Regions from separate parts of the Homo sapiens genome. Here regions 2, 3, 4, 5 and 6 are each linked to region 1. The links are contacts of gene promoters, found by promoter capture Hi-C in human tissues and cell types (Jung and others, 2019). All regions are on one chromosome and are shown on one strand. Each heading gives the region's core, a stretch centred on a gene start or on the middle of the fragment in contact. The rest is flanking DNA. Distances are from core to core; before and after follow the strand shown.

What was found. Contacts are between HindIII fragments. The study calls those that stand out against the background at their distance.
Region 2: a fragment that was not itself captured here is called in contact with the fragment with the promoter of TMA16 in region 1 in 1 of the 25 tissues and cell types used here (mesenchymal stem cells).
Region 3: a fragment that was not itself captured here is called in contact with the fragment with the promoter of TMA16 in region 1 in 1 of the 25 tissues and cell types used here (mesenchymal stem cells).
Region 4: a fragment that was not itself captured here is called in contact with the fragment with the promoter of TMA16 in region 1 in 1 of the 25 tissues and cell types used here (hippocampus).
Region 5: a fragment that was not itself captured here is called in contact with the fragment with the promoter of TMA16 in region 1 in 4 of the 25 tissues and cell types used here (H1 embryonic stem cells, aorta, heart left ventricle and 1 more).
Region 6: a fragment that was not itself captured here is called in contact with the fragment with the promoter of TMA16 in region 1 in 1 of the 25 tissues and cell types used here (lymphoblastoid cells).

The regions. Positions count from the first base shown.
Region 1 is chr4:163,493,040-163,496,190 of GRCh38, reverse strand. It overlaps TMA16 (translation machinery associated 16 homolog), which reads right to left and starts at 1,501. Exons shown (of 7, transcript NM_018352.3): 1 at 1,387-1,501. The coding sequence starts at 1,389. It overlaps LOC124900805 (a long non-coding RNA gene), which reads left to right and starts at 967. Exons shown (of 2, transcript XR_007058354.1): 1 at 967-1,029; 2 at 1,295-3,151. RefSeq lists enhancers at 925-1,074, 1,105-1,244, 708-1,610 and a cis regulatory region at 2,892-3,151. The HindIII fragment of the contact is 18,907 bases long and covers 1-3,151 here.
Region 2 is chr4:163,027,862-163,031,018 of GRCh38, reverse strand. No RefSeq gene overlaps it. Among named protein-coding and RNA genes, the nearest start is that of MIR4454, 64 kb to the left of the region's middle. The HindIII fragment of the contact is 3,488 bases long and covers 151-3,157 here.
Region 3 is chr4:163,222,921-163,226,019 of GRCh38, reverse strand. No RefSeq gene overlaps it. Among named protein-coding and RNA genes, the nearest start is that of NAF1, 58 kb to the right of the region's middle. The HindIII fragment of the contact is 4,814 bases long and covers 1-3,099 here.
Region 4 is chr4:163,046,583-163,049,602 of GRCh38, reverse strand. No RefSeq gene overlaps it. Among named protein-coding and RNA genes, the nearest start is that of MIR4454, 46 kb to the left of the region's middle. The HindIII fragment of the contact is 5,549 bases long and covers 1-3,020 here.
Region 5 is chr4:163,135,203-163,138,111 of GRCh38, reverse strand. It overlaps NAF1 (nuclear assembly factor 1 ribonucleoprotein), which reads left to right. Exons shown (of 8, transcript NM_138386.3): 6 at 862-913. Among named protein-coding and RNA genes, the nearest start is that of NAF1, 30 kb to the left of the region's middle. The HindIII fragment of the contact is 4,272 bases long and covers 1-2,909 here.
Region 6 is chr4:163,096,567-163,099,525 of GRCh38, reverse strand. No RefSeq gene overlaps it. Among named protein-coding and RNA genes, the nearest start is that of MIR4454, 4.4 kb to the right of the region's middle. The HindIII fragment of the contact is 7,940 bases long and covers 1-2,959 here.

The DNA.
Region 1 (3,151 bases), core at 252-2,751:
AGCTGTACTGAAAGAGGATGCAGCAAAACCACTAATGAGGTTATATCAAAAAAAAATGACAGAGCCAGAAATGAGCCAATGAAAACAGGTTCATATGCCACTCTTTTGACTTCTATGCCAAAGCAACGTACTTCTACTATACAGCCTGATAAAAAGTGAAGCTCTGATAGTCAAGGACAACTACAGTCAAATACCAATCTATCTCCCCAATCACTCAAACACAATGAGATGTAATTGCTTTCATATTCCACTCTGAAAAGGGGAAAAAAACTAACACTATAAAGAGTTGGAAATCCCACAAGCAAAGTGACAAGCAAACACTGAATTTACACAAATGTGTACAATCTAAAGTACAAAATATGCGTCAGCAGTGGATCAAAATAAAGCACAAAAAACTCGCGAAACAACGAAAGAACCAGACTGTAAGACAAAAATGGCATACAATGAAAAGAGAAAAAAATGAAAAGAAACAAAGAGGCCACATTGTGGACACAATATCGTAACTTCTGACCAGATTATAAACTTTTAAAATTTTGCTTTTATTAAAAATTAATTGAAAAAAATTTATAAAGCATGTTTCTATGCAAGAATTACTCTCAAGAACACAACGATTACGTAAAAAATAGGCAAGAAACAACATACTGTTTCAAAATACAAATATATGTAGTAACTATAAAGAAAAGTAGTGAAATTATAAATACAAAACTTAGATAATGTTTGCTTCTTAAGGTTTCCTGAAAGTTCAAAGAAGGTAACACAGGGCTTTCAAAGGCTATGTTTTATTTCTTAAAACTACAAAATGGGTAAACGAGAATTCCTGAAACTGTTCATCTTTACACTTGAAATGTGCTTTAGTAACACTCTTTTGTATCTACTCAGTTTTTAATAAAAACAACAAAACTGCTTCAGTGCCCTGGAGCGAATGGGGGCGTAACGGCAGGATTCAGGGCACTAACGAGAGGTGAACGGACGCCGAGGAAGAGGCGACTAAGCCCACATACTGAGTCTACCCAGGCCAGAGAGGCAGAGGTGTGTAGGGCCAGCGATCTCAGAAGTTTTGCCAAACTCCTCGATGCGTTACAATGGAAAGGTGCCGGGTTTCCCCCAGGAAGTAGTGACTAGCGAGAAGTTAGGCACAAGGCAAAGAGGAGCAAGGCGACGTGTGAGCACTTCAGCACTCGGACGCGGAACTCTAAGGTCCAGGCGTTGGGCCTGGGACTCGCCTCCCAGAGGCTTCGCCCCGCACCCCGCACACTCCCTGAAAATAAACACTTTGCATCCTCCCCTCTCCTAGGTTCCCGAAACCGCACCCTCCCTCTCTGCCTGCTCAACAAGAGCCTTCCGGGGAACCAACCGAGCGGTTCGGGGGAGCAGGAGGGGGCCCACCATGGTGACGTCCTCGTGGCCACGGAGCAGCTCCGCACTCTAGACCCAGGTAATCTCACCAACCGCAGGAGCAGCAGCTCACAAGAGCACCCGGGCCGAATCCCACGTGGCGCCTGAGAAGCCCGCGCCGACCCAACCGGAACAGGAGAGGCGAGTGCGTTTCTCTAAAGCGTCCCCGTTAACTGAGACCGCGTCTTTTTCGCCCGTGTTGGGCTTTTAAGCTCTAGCCCAACGGACAGCCAGACCTGCGTGCTCGCCGGGAGCGGCGGAAGGGAGCTTGCGGCGGGAGGCTGAACTCTGCCTGGTGCTGAGTGCGAGGCTGGGGATTGGAGCCCGGGTGGAGACGCTACACGCTTCCGGCCCCAAGAGCGGAGCTTGCCCATCTGTCCCAGAGCACGACTCCAGAGCGCAGCAACCTCTTCAGACAAGAGGTTCCCTCTTGCGGGCTCCCGCATCTCAGGGGCTGGGACCCTCTCAAAAGGGCCGCTCGGTGTTGGCTCCCCGGAGCTCTTGCACGGCACAGGCTCCTGCCCTCCGCTTTTCCACGTACTAGATTACCTTGGGCAAGTCCTTTCCTGCACTGAGTCTTTTTTTGCCCTGCCCTGCCCTGCCCTGCCCTGCCCCGCCCCGCCCCTCTTCTCTTTCCTTTCTTTTCTTTTCTTCTTTCCCTCTTTCCCGCCTTCCCTCATTCCCTCTTTCTTTCTTCCTCCCGGGTTCAAGCGATTCTCCTGCCTCAGCCTCCCGAACAGCTGGAATTACAGGCCTCCGCCACCACGCCCGGCTAATTTTTTTTTTTTTTTTTTTTTTTTGTATTTTTAGTAGAGACGGGGTTTCGCCGTGTTGGCCAGGCTGGTCTCGAACTCCTGATCTCAGGTGATCCGTCCGCCTCGGCCTCCCAAAGTGCTGAGATTACAGGCCTGAGCCACCACGCCCGGCCGAGTCTTAGTTTCTTTATCCGGAAAGGCCACTTCCTCATATTCAAGGCCTCTGCCAACCCAGTTTTTGTTTTCTTCTCACAGCATGTGAGAGTCTTTGTTTCACCCATACATGTTAGAATTCCGTAGACAATGTAATCATTCAAAAACTATTTATTGAATGCCTACTGTGTGCCTGGTACTGGGGATACTCCAACAATATCCCTCACTCAGCTCATTTTCCAGGGGATGGAGGCATGTAAAAATATTATTTCAAATAATATAAGTACTCTAATAAAAATTAGCTGGCGGGGGCATGTAGAAAAGCTGTTTTACACATGGTGGTCTCTATAAAGTCCTCTTTTAGAAGTGATAATTGAGCAGAGACCGGAATTGTAAGAGAAAACTAGGCATGGGAAGAAGCTCCAGGCAGGGTGAAGCTGGTGTGCCTTGATATGTGTGTGCAGCTGTTAACAGTTGAGGGTAGTTGGCTAGGTCCTTGGCGTTTTGAACAAATAATTGGACAAAACACACAAATAAAGCAAGGCAGCGAAAGCAGAGATTTATTTTAAATGAAAGTACACTACTCCACTGCGTGGAAGCAGGCTGTGGCAAGCTGCTCAAAAGCACAGGTTGCAGAATTTTCTGGGGTTTAAATACCTTCTAGAGGTTTCCCATTGGTCTTCCACAAGTCTGATTGGTTGAGGAAGGGGACCAATCTGAGGCACTTTCATTTTTCAACTGCCACACAGAAAAAGAAGGGCTTGCAACTGCCAGGCAGCAACTGCCATGCAGAAAAAGGAGGGGTTGAAGGGGAGTAGTCTTTCAACTGATATCCCATCAGCACAAAT
Region 2 (3,157 bases), core at 645-3,144, 470 kb after region 1:
TCTCAAAATAATCTGGAGAAGAGCTGCCACAGCTGACCCTCAGATCACATAAACAAGAAGTAGATATTTGTCCTTGTAAGTTATGTGAGTTATGCAGTGTTATTACAGAAAAAAAAATGACCTATTTGGAATAAGATAGTTGAAGCATCTAATAGAGAGCGGGGAATACTATTCTGGAGAAGAAGAAGCTGGAGATACAGATTTTGGTGTTGTAGTAGTTAAAAGTTGTTAACATGAATAAAATGACTAAGGTAAACCAGAGAAGAGAAGAATTCCAAGGATGCAAAGAACCCTAAGAGCAGCAACAATTGAAGTGTGAGCTGGGAAAATGGTTCAGATTGGAGAATGAGAATGAATAGTCATGGTTTAAGAAAAGAATCATGAAAATGCAATGTATGGATGGGGGTGGTGGCTCGCGCTTGTAATCCCAGCACTTTGGGAGGCCGAGGCTGGCAGACCACGAGGTCAGGAGTTCGAGACCAGCCTGGCCAACATGGCAAAACCCCATCTCTACTCAAAAATACAAAAATTAGCTGGGTGTGATGATGGGTGCCTGTAGTCCCAGCTACTCAGGAGGCTGAGGCAGGAGAATCGCTTGAACCCAGGAGGCGGAGGTTGCAGTGAGCCGAGATCGCACCAGTGCACTCCAGCCTGGGCAACAGAACAAGACTCTGTCTAAAAAAAAAAAAAAAAGGAAAATAAAAGAAAATGCCATGTAATGAAAATAAAGGAATGGCAGTATCTCAAGGAGGGTATTGTGGGCAATATTAAACATCACAAAAAGTTGAGGTAAAAAATGCTGAAAATAATCCTTTGAATAACAGAAATTAGAACACACTGCTAAAAGTCACACATTGTGGTACCATTTCCAATAGACTTAATACCGTCTGTACATTTATTAAGGCTTGTTTTATTAGTGCTTGTTGAGTGAATTTTTTAAAATTTCATTTTATTTTAGATTCCAGGATACATGGGCAGAACACGCAGGTTTGTTACATAGGTAAACGTGTGCCATGGTGGTTTGCTGCACCTGTCAACCCATCACCGAGGCATTAAGCCGCACATCCTTTAGCTATTAAATGAATGTATTTGTCCACTGCATTTACACACAGAAACAATCTTGGCATTTATTCAGCATTTACTACAGTTAAACTTCTATATTATGTGAACCCAAAACATTATTGTGTGCCTCAAAAAGTTACTGCTTTACTTTTAATTCTATAAAATAATGACTTTTCAAAATTATATGTTAGACATAGAACTCGATGTTTAAGGAAATTTAATGCTTAAGGAGAAAATATATCTTTTGGCTTTTATTTCAGTTAGAAAAATGGCTCTAAATTGGAAGATTTCACTCACTTAGACAAATCTTTTAAAAGACCATTTAAAAATGACAGTAAATCTTGTTGACAGCATTGAAAGTATACATATGTGCTCTTTAGCTTATTGGAATTTAAAAACAAACATAAGCTCCATTAGAGCACTAAGGAAAAACTGGAGCACTTTGTATATAATGGGCTTTGATTGATTACCTTCTGGGAACCAGAGATTCACAAGCTTTTATGAATCATATCATGGATGAAGCATATTTTCATCAGGAAACTTTTATGACTGCTGGGTTCTTTAGGGAATTTCCATACTTTTTTTCAGATGAGGCTTTGCTATGTTGCCCAGGCTGCTGTCAAACTCCTAGGCTCAAGCCATTCTTCTACCTCATCCTCGTGAGTAGTTGGGATTACAGGCACACATCATCATGCTCGGTTCTTAGAGAATTTACTTCATGATAAATACTGAATATTTTGTTTAACAATTTTCTGCCTAAAAGCTTCTGCAATTTGGAATTTTGTCATGTTGAAAAGCTTTCAGGAAGCATGGTAGAAAAGGTTATTAGTATTTAATTTAGTGAACTGGAAAACACAACAATGGTTTTTATGGTCTAGAAAGGTATTATGAACAATATTTCTGCAAATATTTTATATTTATATTGCTATTCTGGTGTTCCCAAACACTAAATATTTCTAAATTTAGGGTCAACAGTGTTATCTCTTATGGACACAGTCTGAATATAATAATTATGAAATGAACATGTGTTTTGAGGACACTACATTCAGCAATAAACTGCAAAAGCTCCCCAAGCATATTTCTGAGGCACCCAGAAGATTATTTTGTCACACTGAAGATTTCAGCCTAAGTAAAGATAATATTTTTCTTTCAGGGAAATCAGAGTTCCTATAAGCAAACTCTAACTCATAAGACCCAGGAAAGCTGAGCTAGCTCTAAGAGTTGACCTTGATAGAAGACTGCAGACTACTGAGTTTCTCTATTGAAGTAATTGCATTGTGGCATCTTGCATTGGACATCATGAGTTGAGTCCTTCATTTGGACTAATTGATGCTTTCCTTTCCCTTTGTTTAATACTGACTGATACCCACAACTTACTGAATGCTTGCCACTAGTGTGCAACTTCTGCATACCCATGCACTTCTGCTCTTACAAGCCTTACCACAAGTCAACCCTGTTAGCAATTAAACCTGCTATGCTGGTTGAATTGCTTTTATAATTATGTAATTTACCTCTTTCCAAAAATGGTAAAATATGAACTGGAAAAAAACATGAAAATTAAGTTCAATATTTTCGAAGACTTAAAAACACTTTCAAAATAGGTGTGCATTAGATGACTCTGAAATAACAGAAGGAAAGTCATGAAAAACTTGAAATCCAAGGGGAGATTCTGTGAGGTCAAGTTGCCTTTAAAGGTCTCTATGTCCTTATTCTACTTTTAGAAGCCACAAACTAGAAATCTTAGATAATACATTCTGAGTGTGGTTGATGCAAGAAAGACAGAGAGTCTGCTCTTGGATGTTTACCCAAAGAAAAGTCTTGGACCTGACAACCAAAAGATTGTAAATAAATGTAATAAAAAATAAAAGCATATGTGTATACCTCTTTTGTGAATAGTTATTTTAAATAATCTTCTATTAACCAATCCACTTCATGCTTCTATCTCACTGGGTAAGAAGGCTTTGTGGTGTTGCCCAGATTTGCTGAATCTTCCCTTGCCAGCCTGCCGAGACCCTTACCTTAGATTTTTGACTCAGTAATTGTTGTCCCATTAAGACTTGATGCTTTATTAGTGATAATTTGTGTGAATGTGACA
Region 3 (3,099 bases), core at 197-2,696, 270 kb after region 1:
CCAACAGTTTGAGACCAGAATGGGCAGAATAAAAAGACTCTGTCTCTACAAAAAAATGTAAAATTAGCTGAGTTTGGTGGAGTGTGCCTTTATTCCTAACTACTCCAGAGGCTGAGGTGGGAGGATACCTTGAGCTCAGGTGTTTAAGGCTTCAGTGAGCTACATTCTCACCATTGCACTGTGGCCTGGATGACAGAACAACACCTTGTAAAATAGAGCCAAGTGGCCATTTTCTTACTAGGGGTCACACAGTCTGCATTCCCCCAAAACCCACACCTCTGTTTAACTTTGGGACTTTCAGAGGTCACAGGAACCAACCAATCAGCGCTCATCTGCTCTGGCCAATCAGGGGTCAGTTATATCAACCAGCCAATGCTTAGTTCTTAGCTATAACAACCAATCAGGGATCAACTATATTGAGTAATCAGAATTCAACTGTGTCAACCAATTAGAAATGGGACCTTTGAATTTTTCATTTTTCAATCTGATTGGGAAGCTGGGTGGGAACTTTCTCTATAAAAGCTGAAACTTCCTTTTGTTCTCTGGATTTCACTATTCTTTATTTTTATTTTTATATTTCAATAGGTTTTGGGGGACCAGGTGGTGTTTGGTTACATAAGTTATTTAGTGATGATTTCTGACATTTTGGTGCACCCATCACCCAAGTAGTGTACACTGTATCCAATGTTAGTCTTTTATCCCTCACCCTGCCCACAATTCCCTCTGAGTCCTCAAAGTCCATTGTATTATTCTTATTCCTTTGAGTCCTCAAAGCTTAGTTCCCATTTATAAGTGAGCACATACGATGTTTGGTTTTCCATTCCTGAGTTAGTTCACTAAGAGTAATGGTCTCCAACTCTATCCAGGTTGCTGTGAATGCCATTAATTCATTTTTTTATGAATGAATAGTATTCTATGGTATGTATATCACATTTTCTTTATCCACTCATTGATTGATGGGCATTGGGCTGGTTCCATATTTTTGCAATTGCTAATTGTGCTGCTTTAAACATGTATGTGTTAGTGTCTTTTTCATATAATTAGTTATTTTCCTCTGGATAGATAGATACCCAGTAGTGAGTTTGCTGGATCAAATGGTAAATCTACTTTTAGTTTTGTAAGGAATCTCCACACTGCTTTCCATAGTGGTTGTACTAGTTTACATTTCCACCAACAGTGTAAAAGTGTTCCCTTTTCACCACCTCCACAGCAATATCTATTCTTTTTTTTTAGTTTTTAAATTATGGTCATTCCTGCAGGAGTAAAATGGTATCACAATGTTGTTTTGACTTGCATTTCCTTGATCATTAGTGATGTTGAGCATTTTTTCACATGTGTGTTGGTCATTTGTATATTTTCTTTTGAGAATTGTCTATTCATTTCCTTAGACCACTTTTTGATAGGATTGTTTGTTTTTTACTTACTGATTTGTTTGAGTTCATTGTAGATTCTGGATATTAGTCCTTTGTCGGATGCATACTTGGCAAAGATTTTCTCCAACTCTGTGGGTCGTCTGTTTATTCTGCTGTTTTTTCTTTTGCTACGCAGAAGCTTTTTAGTTTAATTAAGTCCCGTCTATTTATCTTTGTTTTTGTTACATTTGCTTTTGGGTTCTTAGTCAATCTTTGCCTAAGCCAATGTCTAGAAAGGTTTTTCTAATGTTATCTTCTAGAATTTTTATGGATTCAGATGTTAGATTTAAATCTAATCTGTCTTCAGTTGATTTTCGTATAAGGTTAGAGATGAGGATCCAGTTTCATTCTTCTACATGTGGCCTGCCAATTATCCTAGTACCATTTGTTGAACAGGGCATCCTTTCCCCACTTTCTGTTTTTGTCTGTTTTGTTGAATATCAGTTGGCTGTAAGTATTTAGGTTTATTTCTGGGTTCTCTATTCTGTTCCATTGATCTATGTGTCTGTTTTTATGCCAGTACCACGCTGTTTTGAGCATACAAGGTGACCATAGCCTGGTAGTATAGTTTGAAGGTGAGTAATGTGATGCCTCCAGATTTGCTCTTTTTGTTTAGTGTTGCTTTGGCTATGTGGGCTCTTTTTTGGTTTCATATGAATTTTAGGATTTTGTTTTCTAGTTCTGTGAAGAATGATGGTGGTATTTTGTTGGGAATTGCATTGAATTTGTAGATTGCTTTTGGCAGTATGGTCATTTTCGCAATATCGATTCTACCCATCCATGAGCATGGGATGTATTTCCATTTGTTTGTGTCGTCTATGATTTCTTTCAGCAGTGTTTTGTAGTTTTCCTTTTAGAGGTCTTTCATCTCTTTGTTTAGGTATATTCCTATGTATTTCATTTATTTATTTTTTGCAGTTATTGTAAAAGAGATTGAGTTCTTGATTTAATTCTCAGCTTGGTCGTTATTGGTGTATAGCAATGCTACTGATTTGTGTACTTTGTATCTTGAAACTTTACTGAATTCACCTATCAGTTCCAGGAGTTTTTTGGATGAGTGGTTAGGGTTTTCTAGGTATACGATCATATCACTGGCATACAGAGACAGTTCATCTTCCTCTTTACTGATTTGGATTCCCTGTATTTTCTCTCGTCTGATTGCTCTGGCTTGGACTTCCAGGGACTGCATTATTCTTTTTCACTGATAGCTCCATCTTCTTGGCTTGTAAGCTGTTCACTGGAATAATGTCTCTTTTCTTCAAATTCCATTTCAGAGAATTTTTGTCCAGAAACCATAGACACAAGACACCTTCCTGCAGCTTTTTTATCTGGAATCTGAATGGTCTTGGATTGGATTTGGTTCTTTATGTTTTTTTTTTTTTTGTAGTTGTTTTTTGTTTGTTTGTTTGTTTTGAGATGGAGTCTTGCTCTGTCTCCCAGGCTGGAGTGCAGTGGCATGATCTGGGCTCACTGCAACCTCCGCCTCCTGGGTTCAGTTGATTCTCCTGCCTTAGCCTCTCTAGTAGCTGGGATTACAGGTGCACACCACTATACCAGGCTAATTTTTGTATTTTTAGTAGAGACGGGGTCTCACCATGCTGGCCAGGCTGGTCTCGAACTCCTGACCTCATCATTCACCCACCTCGGCCTCCCAAGTGTTGGGATTACAGGCGTGAGCCACTGCACC
Region 4 (3,020 bases), core at 176-2,675, 450 kb after region 1:
CATGTATATTTTCATCTAGATCATTTTGAAAGATGAATAGGAGAAGGAAGAGCTTTTCAAAAGGGTAAAATGGTATGGGCAAAGCACAAAAGAAGCAATCCAATTGCGTATTTGTGGGGGATGATATGTAGACCATTCCGATTTGCATCGATATTTTGTGTATGGAGTAGAGAGGTTAATTAGAACAAGGTTAGAGAAGGTTTTACAATTTTGGTTTCATTTTTTCTTTAGGAAAAAGGGGAACACTTTTGATGCTTTTAAACGAGGAGGATAACTTAAATAAAGCAGTGTTTGAGGAAAATGGATCTGATAGTAGTACTTAGTGAGGACAATGAAATGATACAGCCATGGCAAGATCTTTGTATCTCATGTCAACACCAACCAGAGAGCACCCATGATGGAAGAAGCACTGAACAACCAAGAGAACGAATGGCTCAGCCAGTTGACCCTACCAGCCTGGGTGATTGGCCACACCAGCACTGGCCCAGTGGGCACAGAAACAGTGACCTTGTTGGCAGAGATGGAGACCATATATATAAAGTCCAACAGCACAGGTCCCCCCTAACTATAGCAGTCCCCCTTTATCTGTGAGGGCTATGTTCCAAGACCCCCAGTGGATACCTATAACTGTGAATAGTACTGAACCCTGTATATACTCTGTTTTTTTCATATACACATGTATCTATGATAAAGATTTGTCTATAAATTAGGCACAGTAAGATATTAAAAACAGCACTAAGAAAATAGAATAATTATAACAATATACTGTAAGGAAAGTTATGTGAATGTGGTCTCCCTCTCTCTGTACCACAGGCCACGAAGACCCTGGAAAGCAAACTTGCACTTAAGGGACAACTGCTGCACATCTGATCTAGCCATTGCCGCTGCCAAAAGTCCCAACTGCCTACAATGGTAACTGATGGGGAGGACCTTGGTCTTCAGAAGATGAAGCAGCCACCTGGTGGCAAGTGGGCATCATTGCTCTTTTTCTACCCTGAGGAGAAACAATTAATTTTGATGGAAATATGTTACATTTTTCAGCTCCAGGTTTGCCTTTCCTACTTTTGGGGCTTTAGCCAAAACCCATATTCAAGGGCTGACATGCGTCTGATCCATTGATATGGTAACCCATGCAACATCACATCAGAGAGCCTACTTAACAGGAAAGGAGGTTTACCAATGAAAATATGAACCAAAAGGTCTACAGGTTCTGTCACATACTATACCACCCGGGACCTGCAGGGATTATAGAGCAATGGCATAGTTCATGGGAGGCTCAACTGAAGCACAAGCCCGATATGATGCACTGCAAGATGAGCTGCCATCCTCCAGGATGCAATATGCAAGTTAAATCAAGGACTAGTGTGTGGTGCTGTGTCTTCAGTTGTTAGAATACATGGGTCTGGGAGCTAAGGGGCAGAAGTAAGCATTCTCCTGCTAACTATCATCTGTACTTTCTAGCGCCACAATCATGGCTTCTGCAGATTTAGAGATCCTGGTTCCCAGAGAGGGAAAAGCTTCTAAAAGAGTTACATGAAAAGTTGCCAGCTTTAAAGAGCATTCATCATCCTGGCAGAAATAATACACCCAGATTATCAGGAGGAAGTCGTGGTGTCATTACACAGTGGGGGAATGGAGGCATCTCTTTGACATCTAGCTATCCACTTGGTTGTCTCTTGGTACTCTCTTGCCCAGTTTTCAGTGTAAATGGGTATAATAGTCATTGCCTGAGAAAGAACTGGTGGCCAGAGGCTGAGAGCCTGCAAGGATGAGGATTTGGCTCATGCCCATCAGGTGAGCCACCTAGTCCAGCAGTGGCACCAGCTGAAGGCAAGCAGGATCTAGAATGGATAGCAGGGAAAGGAAAAGATGAGTAATAGTCGTGAGACTCTGTGCGCGCTAGAGTTCATCCCACAAACCTCCCCGTTCTGTTTCTTCCCAAGAAAAGAGGACTATCAGAATCCTGGAGGAGCTGTTTCCTGAACTTACATGAAGTGGATCTGAGTGACCAAAGAGTAAATGGCATTAGATGCTGTGATGCACTGTCCAGTTCCCCTTTCAGAACCGAAGGACTTACTCTCCCAGCTGCTGGGAATGATGCCTGCTGATAATGATCAATTATTGACCTTCTCCTGTTAACTTACCTCAACAACTCCCTTCCCCAGGGCAGCCTGAATCCAACCCATGGTTGATGTGGAAGTGGGGGCTGGGGAGAGGATTATACAAGTTTGCTGTCTCAGTCATCCCTGAGAAGCCTGAGGAGAAAAAAGTTTGATGTCTTTGTCTCAACTCAGGAAGTCTCTGAAGGGTGATTCCAGCTGTAGAGTTCCTTATTACAAGTGTACATCAGTAAAACTTTTTCCTCTGCAAATACAGCTTCCTCTCCTTCCCTTCTCATCCCAAAAGTTGATTCTAGGAATATGTATGAAGTTGTAATACACTTCTTGAGCACTATTCTACATCTCAGAGTTCACCTCCTGGGAAGCCAGCTATGACAGTTACATTCTACTTCTCTACTACTCTGTTTGCCTTTATTATAATCTGCATAAATTTTTACAATAGCCCTTTTATTTCCCTCCCCTACCCCCATTCAGGCTTTAAAATAGGCCACATATCTAATGAAATTATACTGCTGTCACATTTCATTTCTCTAAAGATAGCTTTAGCACAGTCGCCTAGAAAATTGGTGAAAGACTGTTCACTTTTACACATTTAACTGTGAAATCAGGTGATGATTTACATAACAGTAGGTCTCCTACTTTTAGAAGCTTTGGAATTGATTAGATAGTAACTTTTCACTCAAATTTAGCCACAAGTTGTAGGCAGTGACTGATGAGGTGAAAATGTAGATAATTCTCTCACTGTTTTCTTTCTTTTGTAATATTTGTAATATAATTTCTCCTCAATTATTGATCCAGCATCATATTTTCCTCCATAAAACACATCTATCCCCTCAATTGCATAGGCTTAACATGGTTTTTCTTTGTGTTTTTATATGTGTTTCTTCTCCTGAATTCCAG
Region 5 (2,909 bases), core at 400-2,899, 360 kb after region 1:
TAAAACAATAAGGACATCTAGTCCTAATACTTTGTAATATTTTACTTTGTGATATTTTAACATAATGGAATAACAAAATAGTAGCTGAAACTATGAAATTAACAAAATTAAAAAGATTAAAAATGAGCTTTCACAAATTATACTGCTCATAATAGATATCTGTACTTTTGTTGGATGTAAAGTGTAAAACTCTCCACCAAAAGTTGTTGATTTTCAGCTGCAATTACACATTTCACACATGCCAGTCATTATATTGTCCTTCAGAATCTTTAAAGCAGCTTCTCTTCCTCTTCCTCCAACTATTCATAGTTAGCCTTTGTTTGACCCTCACTGCTTTGAGAATCAGTGTTGGAATAAGCCTTGGTTACTCATAGAGGATTGCTGACATTCCTCAGGTAAACTGAGGAGAAAATAATTCATATTGATATCTCTGCCATTAAACCTGTAAAATCTGTGAAAAGGGAATGCCTCATAGTCATTTTTATGTCCTTCGCACATGGAACAACTTCTGATCTACAGTTGGCGTGAAATAAGCATTTTTTTTAAACTGAGTTTTGTGAAAACTGCAAATATTATGAAAACAAAAATCAAAAGAGCTGTCCATCTGCTTTCCACTGCACACCATAGCCTTGGCTTCTCATTCCAGTTCCCTAATCCTAATATTTCTACTTGCTCAACTTTTGTGTTTTTCTTAGGAGCTTCCCACATCTTTTGAAATAAGGTAAAAGACACATAACTGTATTGCAAAATTAAAGGTTGAACTCATGTCCTTTACTTTATTATTTTCTGTACTTTTAAGTTATGAGCACTTAATAGAATTGTGATGAATACTTTTTTGACTCCCATCCCCACCCCACTCAGGGATAAGGGATCAGATGCATCATGGAAGAATGATCAGGAACCACCACCAGAGGTAAGTATAAGTCTTTTTATGCAACATTTTATAAAGTAGGGCAGGACTTAATCTTATAAATTTTATCATTCTTGCTGTTAGGGAAGTCATTAATACTGGCTAGCAGCCATACTGCCTTATCCTGTCCTAGCGCATGTATTCTCTCACCGTCCTAGATGACTATTTCATACCTTTCAGTGAAAGGTTTTGATTGATCATTTAGGAAAAAAACTTTTTTCAGTTACATTTAGTTGTATTTTAATAATTATCACCTTATCATTTACATTGTAGTTTACTATTTTTGTCAACTTTGTTGATGTCTGATAAAGGCAGGCTGTCATTATTTTTTAAAAATTTAATTGAGTTTAGTAAATACACCATATGGGACATGAAGACATGGTGCTTTTAATAGCTGTCCTTCTTTTGGAAGTACAGAATCATTGGAAGCACAAGATCATTGGAAGCTACCTACCTCTCTACTTTTTACGATATAACTACCTTTCTAAAAAGAGACCTTGATTTTCTTTTTGTATCTATGTCAGCAAAACAATAGTTTTATGCCCCAAGGTGACTTGATAATCTAGTCTTCCTAGAGATGTGAAGTAAATTTAGGAATAATATGTAAATAAGTTAATGATTTAATAGGATTACTTGGTTAACATTCCATGAAAGTGTTTAAGCAGATTATCTTGAGGGGTTTTTTTTTTGAATTACAACAATGAATATATTCATTTCTTAAAAATAGCATGTATTTATACAGTATAAAATAAAAATGTATATAAATATTTTTATAAGTAAAAATTATACATGAGAGTTTTTAAAGCTTGCTCAGCAGTTCTTATGAAGTTTTCTCAGTATTACAGTTTTTTTTTTGTTTTTTTTTTTTTTAACAAATATAGACATGGGGGTCTCAGTGTGTTGCCCAGGCTGGTCTCAAGCTCTTGGCCTCAAGTGATTCTCCAGCCCTCAAGCAAGCTTCTGCCTTGGCTCCCCAAAGTGCTGGGATTACAGGCATGAGCCCCTTGCCCAGCCAGTATTACAGATTTTTGATACTTACCGATTTAACCTTGGCCATTTTAGATGTTTAAAGCAATCGTAAATCATGATCTGTGTTTCTAATTTTACTGAGGTATGAATCAGGTTTATGCCCACTTGGAGGGTTCTATACAGGTATGAATCACTTAACCAGTGAATGATCCTTGCTTAGTATCTGAATTGAAATGGAATTATGTTTTCTAATTAATGTTATGTATTTATGTGATTTCAGTTAAGGCTCTGAATATTCACTTAATGTTCTGAATTAAGTTTTAGAGTATCTATAGCATCTTATTACTGGAATTACATGTTTTAAACGTGTTTAGAGATTCATAAACATCTCAAATCATATTTCTTTTAAAATCCAGATATTCTTTTTTTCTTTTTTTGGGTAGGGGATGGAGTTTTGCTCTTTCTGCCCAGGCTGCAATGCAGTGGCACGGTCTCAGCTCACCGCAAACTCTGCCTCCGGGTTCAAGCAATTCTCCTGCCTCAGCCTCCTGAGTAGCTGAGATTACAGGCGCATGCCACCACGCCCAGCTAATTTTGTATTTTTATTAGAGACGGGGTTTCACAATGTTGTCCAGGCTAGTCTTGAACTCCTGACCTCCAGTAATCCACCCCTCTCTGCCTCTCAAAGTGCTGAGATTTCAGGCGTGAGCCACCGCACCTGGCCAAAATCCAGATATTCTAATGAATCCCTCTTGTTTCGGACCTAAGCATTGAAGTTACCAATTACAACAATGCGAGTTATTTGTAAAATTGGTTTGACTAGGTTAATTGCAAAATTACATCTCACCTAGTTCATGGTGTTTGTTTTTTCCAGGTAGCTTGAACTGGATCATTAAGTATCTTGGGATTTAATTTTGTAATATTTGTTGGTGAAACTTTGTAGTCTAGAATTATTGCCTGGTATTGATCATAGATTAAAATTAGAAATTTGTGAGGTTTAAACTTAAAAAGAGAAAAAGGAGAAACATTG
Region 6 (2,959 bases), core at 412-2,911, 400 kb after region 1:
TTTCTGCTTCTTATGTTGAAGATAAAAACAGGGAGAAACAATCAGAAAAAACGGGCTGTTTTCTTTTTTCTTTTGGTAGTTCACCCTATGATAGATGAAAGAGAAAGAAACTGAATTTGAAGTCACAGCCTGCAGCAAAAAGAAATTTCTTAGTTGTTTACTCCAAAAGAAATCTCTGAGATCAGTACTGTTAAAGTCCTGATATCTCAGAACTGAAGCATCTGAAAGAAATTAAGAGTGTTTCTCTGCAGCGAGAAAGAGAAGTGATGAATAATAAGAACCATAAACAAAAGTTAAGTGATAAGTGCATTGATTTTGATTTAAGTTTTTGTTTAACTTGAAAGACTTCTTCTATAAGAAAGTAAACTTAACTGTTGAATGTTTAAGTTGCCCTTAGTAAAGGTTTAGTTTTGAAAAATGAAGAGAGCCTGCTTAACTTTCACTCAAACAAACCATTCAGTAGAATAAATAGGCATTGCCCTACTCCTGGGGCTGGGACCAATGTACCTCTGTCAGCTGATGGGTGGCACACGTTGGTTGTACCAAAATTTTTCCAAGTTCCAAATTTTTCTTGGCAAAACCTCTTGAAAGATGGTACAGAATGACTCAAGAAAGCTCAACTTCAGGCTGCCAGGTTTATTCTGCAGGGGCTGTGCCCCAGTAGGTGGATAGGGGGCAGCTGGGGAGCTGCTTTCTCCTGGATCCCCCAGCCCAACCCACCTTGGTCTTATCTCATATAGTATCTAAGTATCTTTCTCTCACTCGCCACCCCTCATCTCCCAAAACACATAGAGCCTAGAGAACCTAAAATTAATTTGCACACATTCGACCATGTACCACCTCTCTCTCCCTCTTCCCCATAACACCCAGTAGGAGGATTTTCTCTACATCGTATCTTCTGACTTGCTCTCCTCTTCCTTCTGACTCTAGCTAAATTTTAATGATTCTTTCTCTACACTATAAAAATTTCTATGAACGAAGTACTTCAAAATTGGTTGTTGATATACTGTTGGGAAAAATCATTAATTTTTAAAATTTTCTCTCAAGTCTGACAGTGTGGCCATTGTCTTGCTGCATAATCTTATCTGTGAATAATACATTTAACTTTCCTAGATGAATAAAAATAACATATTTATGTGATTCACTTTTCACAGGTGAATAAAAAAAGGAATCGCAAGATGTAATAACACGTACGTATAGAAAGCAAAGTAGAACTTGGAATGAAAGTCATTCCGTTTTACTGTAACAGTAAGATAAATATTTTTCATTTAGGTCCTTGACTTCCTATATTAGGTAAATGAGAGGATCGATCATCATACATTGATGCAGGGAATAGTTAAGCCAATAAGAGCAATTTGAATGAACTACGGGAAAACTCTAAAAGGGCCATTTAAAAAATATATATATATATAAAATTATCTTTGATCACCAGTAAGTCTTAGAATGATCGAAAGGAAAAGGAGGCAAGTATTGTTAGCACATTTATGTATTTTGTTATGAAACTGTTGAAGCTCACTAGAAGGTCCTGGATCTGGTGCTCAGCTCAGATGAATCCATAAAAGGGAAATTATTTTCTTCTTCCTGAGTTCTCACTAAGTGTACAGAAGCCATCAGTTTCATGTGCGTCCCTGTGAAGAGACCACCAAACAGGCTTTGTGTGAGCAATAAAGCTGTTTATTTCACCTGGGTGCAGGCGGGCTGAGTCCGAAAAGAGAGTCAGCAAAGAGTGGTGGATTATTATTAGTTCTTATAGGTTTTGGGATAGGCGATGAAGTTAAGAGCAATGTTTTGCGGGCAGGGGTGGATCTCACAAAGTACATTCTCAAGGGTGGGGAGAATTACAAAGAACCTTCTTAAGGGTGGGGAGATTACTAAGTACATTGATTAGTTAGGATGGGGCAGGAACAAATCACAATGGTGGAATGTCATCAGTTAAGGCTATTTTTACTTCTTTTGTGGATCTTCAGTTACTTCAGGCCATCTGGATGTATATGTGCAAGTCACAGGGGATGCGATGGCTTGGCTTGGGCTCAGAGGCCTGACATTCCTGCCTTCTTATATTAATAAGAAAAATAAAATAATGTTGAAGTCTAGGGGCGGCGAAAATTTTGGGGGGTTGTTGTGGAGAGAGAATGGGCGATGTTTCTCAGGGCTGCTTCGAGCGGGATTAGGGGCGGCGTGGGAACCTAAAGTGGGAGAGATTAAGCTGAAGGAAGATTTTGTGGTAAGGGGTGATATTGTGGGGTTGTTAGAAGAAACATTTGTTGTGTAGAATGATTGGTGATGGCCTGGATACGGTTTTGCATGAATTGAAAAACTAAATGGAATAAGAGGAGGAGAAAAACAGGTATAAAAGGTCTAAGAATTGGGACTACTCAGGACATCTGATTAGAGAGTGCCTAAGGAGATTCAGCATAGCCCTGCCAGCAAAGATTATTTATTTACTTCAAGAGTTAAGAATGGCAGTTTGGGGATAGCACGAGGCAAGCATGATCAGGGTGAGGAACAGGAAAGAAGGAAATATGGGGAAATGGGGGTGAATATCAGGTGGATCAGAGAGATACAGTCATGGGGGTCAGGTGTGGTATCAGGAATAATGTGGGAGGCCGGATTGAAGTCCGGGCCAGGAACAATGGTAATTGTGGGACTTAAAGAGTGAGTACAGCTGAAGGAGCCGGGGAGCAGAAAGTATATGCGTCAGGTATGAGGAAGAAAATAGATTTTGGAAGTTATGAGAAATGTAGAGAGTGAGCTGAGCATACTTTGTGATTTTTAGGGCCTCTAACAGTATTAAAGCAGTGGCAGCCACTGCACGCAGACATGAGGGCTAGGCTAAAACAGTAAGGTCAAGTTGTTTGGACAGAAAGGCTACAGGGTGTGGTCCTGGCTCTTGAGTAAGAATTCTGACCGCACTAACTATGCCTAGGAAGGAAAGGAGTTGTTCTTTTGTAAGGGATTG